2 separate regions of the Homo sapiens genome follow, and region 1 is linked to region 2. The links are contacts of gene promoters, found by promoter capture Hi-C in blood cells and fetal thymus (Javierre and others, 2016). All regions are on one chromosome and are shown on one strand. The core of a region is centred on a gene start or on the middle of the fragment in contact, and the rest is flanking DNA. Distances in the headings are between cores, read along the strand shown.

What was found. Contacts are between HindIII fragments. The CHiCAGO score rates a contact against its expected background, and 5 or more counts as called.
Region 1: a contact is called between a fragment that was not itself captured here and the fragment with the promoter of KDM2A in region 2, in 1 of 17 cell types (neutrophils). The highest score is 5.3, in neutrophils.

The regions. Positions count from the first base shown.
Region 1 is chr11:67,321,096-67,325,818 of GRCh38, reverse strand. LOC100130987 (a long non-coding RNA gene) reads right to left here. Exons shown (of 4, transcript NR_024469.1): 2 at 4,486-4,549. Among named protein-coding and RNA genes, the nearest start is that of SSH3, 20 kb to the right of the region's middle. The HindIII fragment of the contact is 9,734 bases long and covers 1-4,723 here.
Region 2 is chr11:67,117,535-67,122,266 of GRCh38, reverse strand. KDM2A (lysine demethylase 2A) reads right to left here and starts at 3,004. Exons shown (of 21, transcript NM_012308.3): 1 at 2,218-3,004; 2 at 909-1,033. The coding sequence starts at 950. It overlaps LOC107984341 (a long non-coding RNA gene), which reads left to right and starts at 3,919. Exons shown (of 2, transcript NR_160735.1): 1 at 3,919-4,732. RefSeq lists silencers at 1,863-1,952, 2,478-2,617, 2,798-2,867, 3,008-3,447, 3,628-3,907 and 2 more and an enhancer at 3,518-3,567. The HindIII fragment of the contact is 9,806 bases long and covers 1-4,732 here.

The sequences.
Region 1 (4,723 bases), core at 176-2,675, 210 kb before region 2:
GTAGTTGGGACTATAGGCAAGCACCAGTATGCCCAGTTAAAAAAAAAATTTTTTTTTGAGATGGAATCTCGCTCTGTTGCCCAGGCTGGAAGGCAGTGGGGTGATCTCGGCTCACTGCAACCTCCGCCTCCCAGGTTCAAGCGATTCTCCTGCCTCAGCCTCCCAAGCGGCTGGGATTACAAGTGCTCGCCACCACGCCAGGCTAATTTTTGTATTTTCAGTAAAGATGGGGTTTCACCATGTTGGCCAGGCTGGTCTCGAACTCCTGACCTCGTGATCCACTTACCTCAGCCTCCCAAAGTACTGGGATTACAAGTGTGAGCCACCGCGCCTGGCGTGCCCAGTTAATTTTTAACTTTTTTTTTTTTTTTTTTTTTTTTTTACAAATAGGGTCTCACTCTGTCGCTGAGGCTGGAGTGCAGTGGCAAGAACATTGCTCACTGTAGCCTCAACCTCCTGGGCTCAAGTGCTCTTCCTGCCTTGGCCTCCCAAAGTGCTGGGATTATAGGCATGAGCTACCACACCTGGCCTAATAATCACATTATCTTTTTTTTTTTCCTTCTTCTTCATTTTTTTCTTTTTTTTTTGAGACAGGGTCTCACTTTGTCACCGAGGCTAATTTTTAAATATTTTTGTAGAGATGGGAATCTCACTATGTTGTCCAGGCTAGTCTTGAATCCTGGCCTTAAGCGATCCTCCCACCTTGGCCTCCCAAAGTGCTGGGATTACAGGCATGAGCCACCACACTCAATCCCAGACTTTTTTTTTTTTTTTTTAAGAAAAGACTGGCCAGGCGCAGTGGCTCACGCCTTTAATTCCAGCACTTTGGGAGGCCAGGGCAGGCAAATCACGAGGTCAAGAGATCGAGACCATCCTGGCCAACATGGTGAAACCCCATCTCTACTAAAAGTACAAAAATTAGCTGGGCGAAAATAAATAAATAAATAAATAAATAATTAGCTGGGCGTGGTGGTGCACGCCTGTAGTCCCAGCTACTTGGGAGGCTGAGGCAGGAGAATCGCTTGAACCTGGCAGGCGGAGGTTGCAGTGGGCCAAGATCGCACCACTACACTCCAGCCTGGTGACAGAGTGAGACTCAGTCTCAAAAAAAAAGGAAAAGAAAGGATTGTGGTTATGTAGAATGATGTCCTTATTATGAGGAGATACAGACCAAAATATTTAGGGGTAAAGTGTCATAATGCCTGCAACTTATTTTCAGTTGGTCCAGGAAAAAAAGAGAGAAAAGAAAGAAACATGTAAATAATAACTGGCAAATCTAGGTGTAGGTTACATAACTGTTCACTGTACTACTCTTTCAACTTCTCTGCACTGAAATTTTTCAAAATAAAAAGTGCTCAAAAAATATTTTTAAATGGAGAGATGAATGGTGGAAGGAACCTTCCCAGACAGAAAGATAAGCATAAGCAAAGGTGAAGAGGTGGAAAAAGTTTTTCGAGAAACAGTCGGTAGTCTAGTTTGATGAGAGTGAAAGGTACATCGTAGGATGTTCTGGGAGATAAAGCCAGAAAGGTAGGCTGGCATCAGATTCATAAAAGGCCTTCAGCAAAAGAATAGAGAGTCTGAGAATGGCGTGAACCCCGGGGGGCAGAGCCTGCAGTAAGCCGAGATCGCGCCACTGCACTCCAGCCTGGGCGACAGCCAGACTCCGTCTCAAAAAAAAAAAAAAAAAAAAAAAAGAATAGAGAGTCTGGGCTGGGCGCAGTGGTTCATGCCTGTAATCCCAGCACTTTGGGAAGCCAAGGCGGGCAGATCACAAGGTCAGGAGTTTGAGACCAGCCTGGCCAACATGGTGAAACCCTATTTCTACTAAAAGTACAAAAATTAGCCAGGCACAGTGGCACGCGCCTGTAATTCCAGCTACTTGGGAGGCTGAGACAGGAGAATTGCTTGAACCCGGGAGATGGAGGTTGCAGTGAGCTGAGATCACGCCACTGCACTCCAGTGCAGAATAGAGTCTGTACTGCACTTGGCAGGCCATAGAGAGCACACCAAAGGCATTTAACACAGGAGTAACACATGCGAAGGGATGAATACGTCTGTGTAGTTAAGGTGCTCTGGACAGACTAAAGGGCATCACCAGCTGTAAAGTTATCACAGTAGCTGAGGCGTAGGAACAGGGACTTCGGCTGGGTAAAGGAAGTGGGGACAAAAGGCAACTGTTTTGTGAAGGACTATCAGAATCTGATAATTGATTAAATGTGGAAAGTCAGCGTTACCCTGAGATTTACAACTGGGTATAGGAGACTATTGATAATGGAAAAGTCAGCAGGAGGGGCTGGTTTGGAGCTCAAGACTCAGAGGTGAGCTGTAAGAAAAAAGAATGAGTTTAGTTTTATCCTAGGCTTCCTGTCAAATGGATCCTTCACAGTTCCTTGTACTCAAACAAGGGTCTAGCCAGAAACAGAATTCTCCTTCCAAGAACAGCTCCTCCATCAGACCAGCCTCACCTGGCCCCACAACCCAGTCCCAGGGACCATTAGGCCCTTACAGCTACCCTGGGCCCCTGGTGCCTTCAGTTATTCTCCGACAGCATCCCTTCCACCTAGTTCCTTCCTATCTAGCCTCCATGTACTTCCAAGTCTTCTTTCCCTAACGTCTTCTCTTATCTGAGTCCTTTTTCCTTTTGAAGAGGAGAAGAATCAGAGCTATCTGCCCAGAAGCGCAAGTCCTGCAGCATGCAGGCCAAGATGGGCACCCGTAGGAAGCTCAAGTGCAGATAGGCCAGGCAAGCATATGTGCCCCTAGGGTCAACAGCTGCTGCTTGCACTACCTAGAGGGAGGAGAGGAGGGAAAGAGGGAAGAGAGGAATGAACAGGGCTGAGGTGGAGGGTGAGGGTGAAGCTGGAGCAGGATGGTGGGGTAGGCAAGTGAGGACCACCTGTGGATCTTGCTGCATATAGGCCTTGCTATACACAGCCCCACCCACCACAGGGATATTCGGGAGTAGGGACGGGGGATCTCTGCTTATCAGCTCAGGCATCCCATTGACCCCAAAATGATTCCATTGGTTGCCTCCAAACCACATGCTCTAGGCCCCATGGCACTCAGCCTCCCTCCCAATTTCCCATTTCTGTGTTGAAAATAAGAGCTTTGGGTTGGCAGGAGTGAGGACATTCTGAGAAGGCAGAGTTCAGCCTGGCATAGGAACATTTGGGATGATCAGATCTCAGACGGTGGACAGAGCTGCGGGAGGCATCTAGCTGAGCCACCAGGCAGGGTGGAGGGTGTGAAAAAGGTCTCTCGAGGGCCATCAGAGGATGGGAGTCGGTCTGCCAAACCAAGAGAGGAGCTGCACAGCAGTGTGTGCTGCCTGGGGAGACAGGCTGCTGCTGTTCTGGGCAAAGCAGGCCAGCTCCAAGCCTTCTCAGGCCATATGAAGATAAATTAGGTAGGATGCATATAACCAGCTCCCTCTCCCCAGGGGCATCCTCCTTTACCCAAACCTGTCTCCCACCTCCGCCTCCATGGCTCTGGCTTGAGTTATGCCAGCAGGTGGGACCCTGCTTTAGCCTTTAGCCTGAGCCTTTACATTCCCTGCCGCACTCACCTTCCACCTTTACCTCTGTGGCTCACTGAGCTGCTCTGCCAGGGCTGCCAATGAGATGGGGTCGCATAGGGTGTAGCATTACTATCCAGGCCAATCCCATCAGGCAAACTTTTGCTAACTTCCTTCCCCACCCAGTGGGAGAACAGTTTTCCTATTCCTGGTTCTCTAACCCAGATACAGAATCCCCTGAAGTCTCACAGCTACCCAGGGTGCCTATCTGGGAGAGGGTGCACCTGGCAGAGTCAAGGGGAAGAGCACAAGTTCTCAGTGCCCTGAGAACAAGTCAGCATGTACTGAGAGCATGAGAGTGAGAGAGAAACTCAGATCAAACTTGTCCAATGACAGGCAGAAGCTGTGCTGAGATAAGACGCTGAGGAAAATGGGCAGTAAATTCTAGCTGAAATGGGAACAAAGGAGAGTCTTGGTCTAGTTTCAGGTTAACCTAGGACCGTGCTCTCACTAGCAGGCAGATGGCACCCTGTCAGTGATTATGGAGGTGGTGGAAAGATCACTGCTCTCAGTGGCATCATTTAGTTCTTTGACCTACAACCTAAGAAATCAGATCCCTCACGTGGAAAAGTGAAAGTCACAATACAAGACCTTACAGCTGTTGAGGTCAAATGAGATCACATGTAAGTGCCAGTGCTTAGTAAACTGTATAGGACCATAACGCCCTTGAAGTAGGTGGACAGAGGCCTCCATGGCAGGCACTGGGCTGTCATAACCTCTTATCAAGTACCAGGCCTGGAGCTACTCAGGCTTCACATGCACTTAGCTATAAGGAAATCCTGATACACACTGCAGGCCCTTACCTGCAGCCTGTGGAGCGGGAGTGAAGTGGGAAAGGAGGATGAAAAGGAAGAACCATTCTCTGGAGAGGGAGCACGGGCTGCCAGAAGGATGGTGTAAAGGCTCACCTTGAGTTGCGTCTCCAGGAGAAGGAGCATTTGTGGCCCCCAGATGTCCTCCAGCATCCCATATCTAGGGACAAAAAGGACAGCCAGTTGTGCTCTATCCCCTGTCTGGTTGCACCTGCTTAATCTCTCCCCAGCTTCCTTGTTCTAAGGATGACTCCACCTTCTGAGCAACAAAACATTCCACGGGGAATCTAGACCTTGGATGAATTAAACAGGACTTGGGAGGATTTGCCCTGTC
Region 2 (4,732 bases), core at 1,755-4,254:
TCTTTTTCTCCTAAATTCAGTCTAAAATGCAGAGCCAAATAAAACCACCATAAATTCCTTTAGTAATCTTCTAGGCCTTTCAGGTCAGCAAATTTCACATACTACATACAATTCTGTCGCTTTCCTCATAGCCCACTCTTCAAACACAAATTCAGATTTTTATTAATACTGTGAGACTACTAATAAAGCTCTCTTTGGCTAAGAAAAACAAAAATTGAATTCTTAAAACTCCAATAGGGAAACCTTACGAGGAAAGCATGGCTTAAAGGATCCAAGTGTTCATATACAGATATAAGCCAATCCTTTCAAATCATGTCTAAAATTTCTTTCAACAAGATCTATCTCGTACATTCCTCCCAAAACACAGAACTTTATCAGCATCCAGTATTCTACCTACTTGTCTTCAATCAATCCCAACAACCCTTCAAAGCTACCAAAATGTTAATTTATAAAATAAAAGAAAATAATCCATAGTTCTCCCCGCTCAAAGTCACAAATCCTGGGACAACAAAATCTTAAAAAACGTATTGAACTATCCTTCCTCAAACAGCTTTGCCCCCAAAATTTATATTCTAATCTAACGTAATCAGATGTATTACAATGTCAGTACTGTAAAATCAGGAATCTTTGTCACATTGTAATCCACAAAATCCTTTGGTATACAATGGTTTCTATAAAAGCTAAAGGCTACATATAACTCCATTTCCAAACAAGATAAATATATAAAATATAAAACATGTTTGGCCAAAAGCCAAATTCGATATTAATACACCTTTCCCCCTCCTCTGGTGCACAGAAAAGTCACCCGAAAAGTTTTAATCACAGATTCACAGTATATTCACAACTGGAAACAAAATAGTTATCCTACTTTAAAACTGGAGGGTGTGGTGGGGGGAGAAAATACTAACCAATCTCTGGCTGTAACGAATCCTTTCTTCTTCGGGTTCCATCTCTCACTCTTCTGTTGAAATTACTGTAAAGAAACCACTCCAGGGCTGCCTTCCTCTTCCTCCTTAGGAACCAGATTGCAACACTAAAGAATAATGATATAAGCAGAAATGAGAACTCATTCTCAAACTTGTGCTTTCTGTTCACGGAAAGGAGTATTTAAGGTAAGTGTTAAAGGCTCTCTGAAAAATCAGGTTCCTCTTCATGAGTTTGGGACCTTTCTGCTCTTGGGCAAGTGGTTCCATGTCATGTTCAACATTAATCACATTACAACTGTCGGAGGCCTAGACGAAACGAGATGTTGGTTTCAGTTCCTTGTGGAAGGGCCACACCACCAGTTTCTCCCCACAGGATTACAACTAGCAAGGATCTCCTTCATGGCAGCATCAGCAAGAAAAAAAAAAAGCCCAGGACTTTTATCTCCAGAGAGCTGACCAGGTGAAGCACCACTGAACTAATCCAGATCCTAACCAAATTAGTTCTCTCTCACCGGTAATCAGAAACTAAAGGAAAGAAGGGCAAACTGACTATGTAAAAAGAGGACAAAAAATTAGGATTTAAATGACCCCAAAACAATTTCCCATACCCCTCCTGTAAGGCCGTGCACAATCGTCGCCTTCCTTTCTAGACTCCCCGGATCTTATCATTCCCAAATCTACCCTCCACCCCAACACAAGATGTGCACAACTCTGAAACAAATTTCAGAGGTGCAAATCAAGGACCAAAATTCCATCTGATCTTTTTGGATAAAGTAATAAAATAAACGATTGCATCTAAGGATACAAGGAAAATACATCTTGTCCAAAAATTAAATAAAAGACCGGCCGGCGCGACGGTCAATCCGTAATACCAAGAAAGGGTTTTCTTTTTTCTAAATATTCTCGTGGATAATGGCTTCCATTGAGAACACAGGTTCCCCCCGTTTTTGTCACTACATTACAGCCACGTTAACAGCATCCTTTCAAAACTGCTACGAGACCAGAGGACCCGATGACACAGTTTGCAGAGCAGTTAGAGGCAGAGCCCTCCCGGAGGAAGCCCTGGCCCGAAGTCGGGAGGGAAACCGTGCTTGCACCCCCTGGGCGACGACCGCCTGGGCATGGAGCAGCCAGGGCCGGAGAGGAAAAAGGGCGAATCTCGCTGGGCTCCCCCAGGAAAAGGCGTTTCAATGGTTCACCCATCGGAAAAAGAGATAGAAACTTTGCATTCAGTCTTTGGATAACACAGTCAACCAAACTTCCAAATGAGGGGGGGGAGGGGGAAACTCACCGGAGATTCTGCTCTTGAGTTCTTGTCCAAGTGAGAAGTAAAAGATTCCAAAGCTGAGAGGAATAATTAAATCCCAAACGTCGTCTTCGGTTTTTCCGTGGATCAACCCAGTATCCAGAGAGGGTCAGAGCGACCAGGAAAAGGGAGCAAACAGTTGCTGAATCAAACCTTCTCTTCTGGCTTTGGAGACCGGGAGTCGGAGGCGTCAGGAGAGAGGAGCGCGACCCCTCGGCGCCGAGCCCGGGGCGCCCCCGCCTCCCCCAGGCCAGCGGTCAGCAGCCCGGGCCCGAGCCCCGGGCCGGCCCCGGCCGCAGGGAGCGCCCTCCTCGCCGTGCCCTCGGCCAGCAGGGGCTGGTCGCCTGCGGGAGCAGCGGCCGATCAGCTGAGACCGGCCGGCCCGAGGCTCCCCGCGCCGCCCCGGCCCCCCGGAACGCGGGCCCCGGCCCCGGGGGGCGGACAGGGCGGGAGCGGCGCGGCGCGCCGGGATGGGGGCCCTGGCTCCCCTCGCGTCTCCCCCTCAGGTCTGGCTCCGCGCTGCGGGACGAGCCCCCCGGCTACTCCCCAGTCGCAGAAGAGGGATTCCGGGGGATGGGCCCCCTGGCGTTGCCCCTCCTCCCGGAGCGTCCCCTGCCCAGGAAAGACAGAGCGGCCACGGGCCCAGCCGCTGGGAAGGTGCTCCGAGAGCCGCCGCCGCCGCCGCCGCTGCCGGGGAGGGGTGTTGTTTCCCTCACACAGGAGGAGCCGCTGAAGCAGCCGCCGCCATTTTGAACCCGTCAGACTCTCACATACACACAGCTCCTCCGAGGCGCACTGCGCAGGCGCCACCTCCCCACCCCTCCTCCAGCTCGCCTCTCCACCCCCCCACCCCCTTCAGGCCTCCCTGCGCTTCTTACCGCTCTCCCGGGCGCGCGTGAACGCGCACGCGTCACTCCCCTCTAACGCGGACACACCGCCGGCGCGCGCACGCGCGGATGCGTCGGCCTCGAATCGCCCGCGCCCCGCGACGCCGACGCGGCTCCCTGCGCCCCCTCGCGTCAGGCCGCCCGCCCTCCCTCCCTCCCGCCAGCCCGCCGCCCCCGCTCCCCGTCGGCGTTCTTCCAGGGCTCGGGCCTGGCTGGCTGCTCGCGCCTGCGCGCAGGGCACCGATCCTCCTCCGCGCGCCCTCCCCCCACACACCCTCACACACACTTCGCCTCTGCGACCCCGCCCCTCGCGGCCAGCTGTGCTGGCCGCCCTCCCCCACCCCCCTGGGAGGGTGGTGACCCCCGACCCCCCACAAAGCACATCACCCCCCCCAAGCAGTGGGAGATCTGCGTCCCCTTCCCCTTCAACCGCCTTTGGCCCCAGGCTGCCCGTCACAGTCACACAACCTGAGGGCCGGGAGGCCTGGGCCAGGGCAACCGATACCCGCCTCAAAGCAGGGTCTCCCGGGGTCAAGCCGCCGGGCTGGGCCCGCGGGACCTGGGCTCCCGGCTCAGGCCTGCCCAGGGCGAGAGGGCGCAGGGAAGGGGCGCATGGCCGCCGGCTGCCCTCCCTTCGCGTGCCGGCCGGTGGGCCGAGGCCGGCTTGCCCGCCATTCCCGGGCAGGCCCCGGCGCCGCCGCCACGGGGCCCGTCTGCCCTGGGCCCGGGGGCTCCTCGGTGCAGCGGCCTGGCCCCGCCTCACCCACTGCTCGTCGCTCCGAAGGGGCAGGAAACAGGAGTAGCATGTCTGTCCTGGGCTCGGCTCCCCGGGGGTGCTGCAGGCGCTTAACAAGGGCGTCCACAGGTACCAGGCGCAGAAGCGGTCTCCGCGACGGCCCGGGGGCGGTGGCGGCCGGCGCGCCCACCGCCGGCCGGAGGCGCCCGGCGAGGTGGCCCAGGAAGCCCCCGCTCCTCGGCCACGCTCAGCTTTCCGCCGCGCCGGTGCCCCCGGCGGCCCGGGTGGGACGTGACCCCGCCCCCGGCGAGTCGGGGCGCCCCCCACGGAGGGGTGCGCGGGCCGCCCCCGGCCCCCGGCCCGACCCTGCCGCCCTGGGCCGTGGCGGGCGCGGGAGGCCCGGCCGGGAAGATGTCTCCTGTTGGTGCGCGCAGCTTCGCGCGGGGGTCAGCGACGGGGCAGCAGCCGCCCGAGCTGCGCCGGCCCTGCCCACGGACCGACTCCCGCGGCCCGACAGCTGCCCGACGGGCCAGCAGGCTCCGAACGTCGACGGAGCCCGGCCGGAGGTACCCGAGCAGTGCCATGCGAGCAGCCCAGCCGCGATCCGGGCATTTCCCCAGCCAATCTCTTGCTCTGGGGCCCGTTTAAATTCTAAATCCCACAAAGGACGGTGGCTGGGGCGTTACACATCGGGGTTGGCACTATTGGCTCCACTACGCCCTTGCTGAGCGGTGTCACACAAATCTTTTTCTCCCTGCCTTGGTTTCCCACTCTTTAAGCTCTGACTCCTGGAAGCAGGGAATGGAGCAGAGAGGTAGGGCATGGAGTGAATCATATAACCTGCATAAACAGCCATCAACTCTTTCAGGAGGACGTT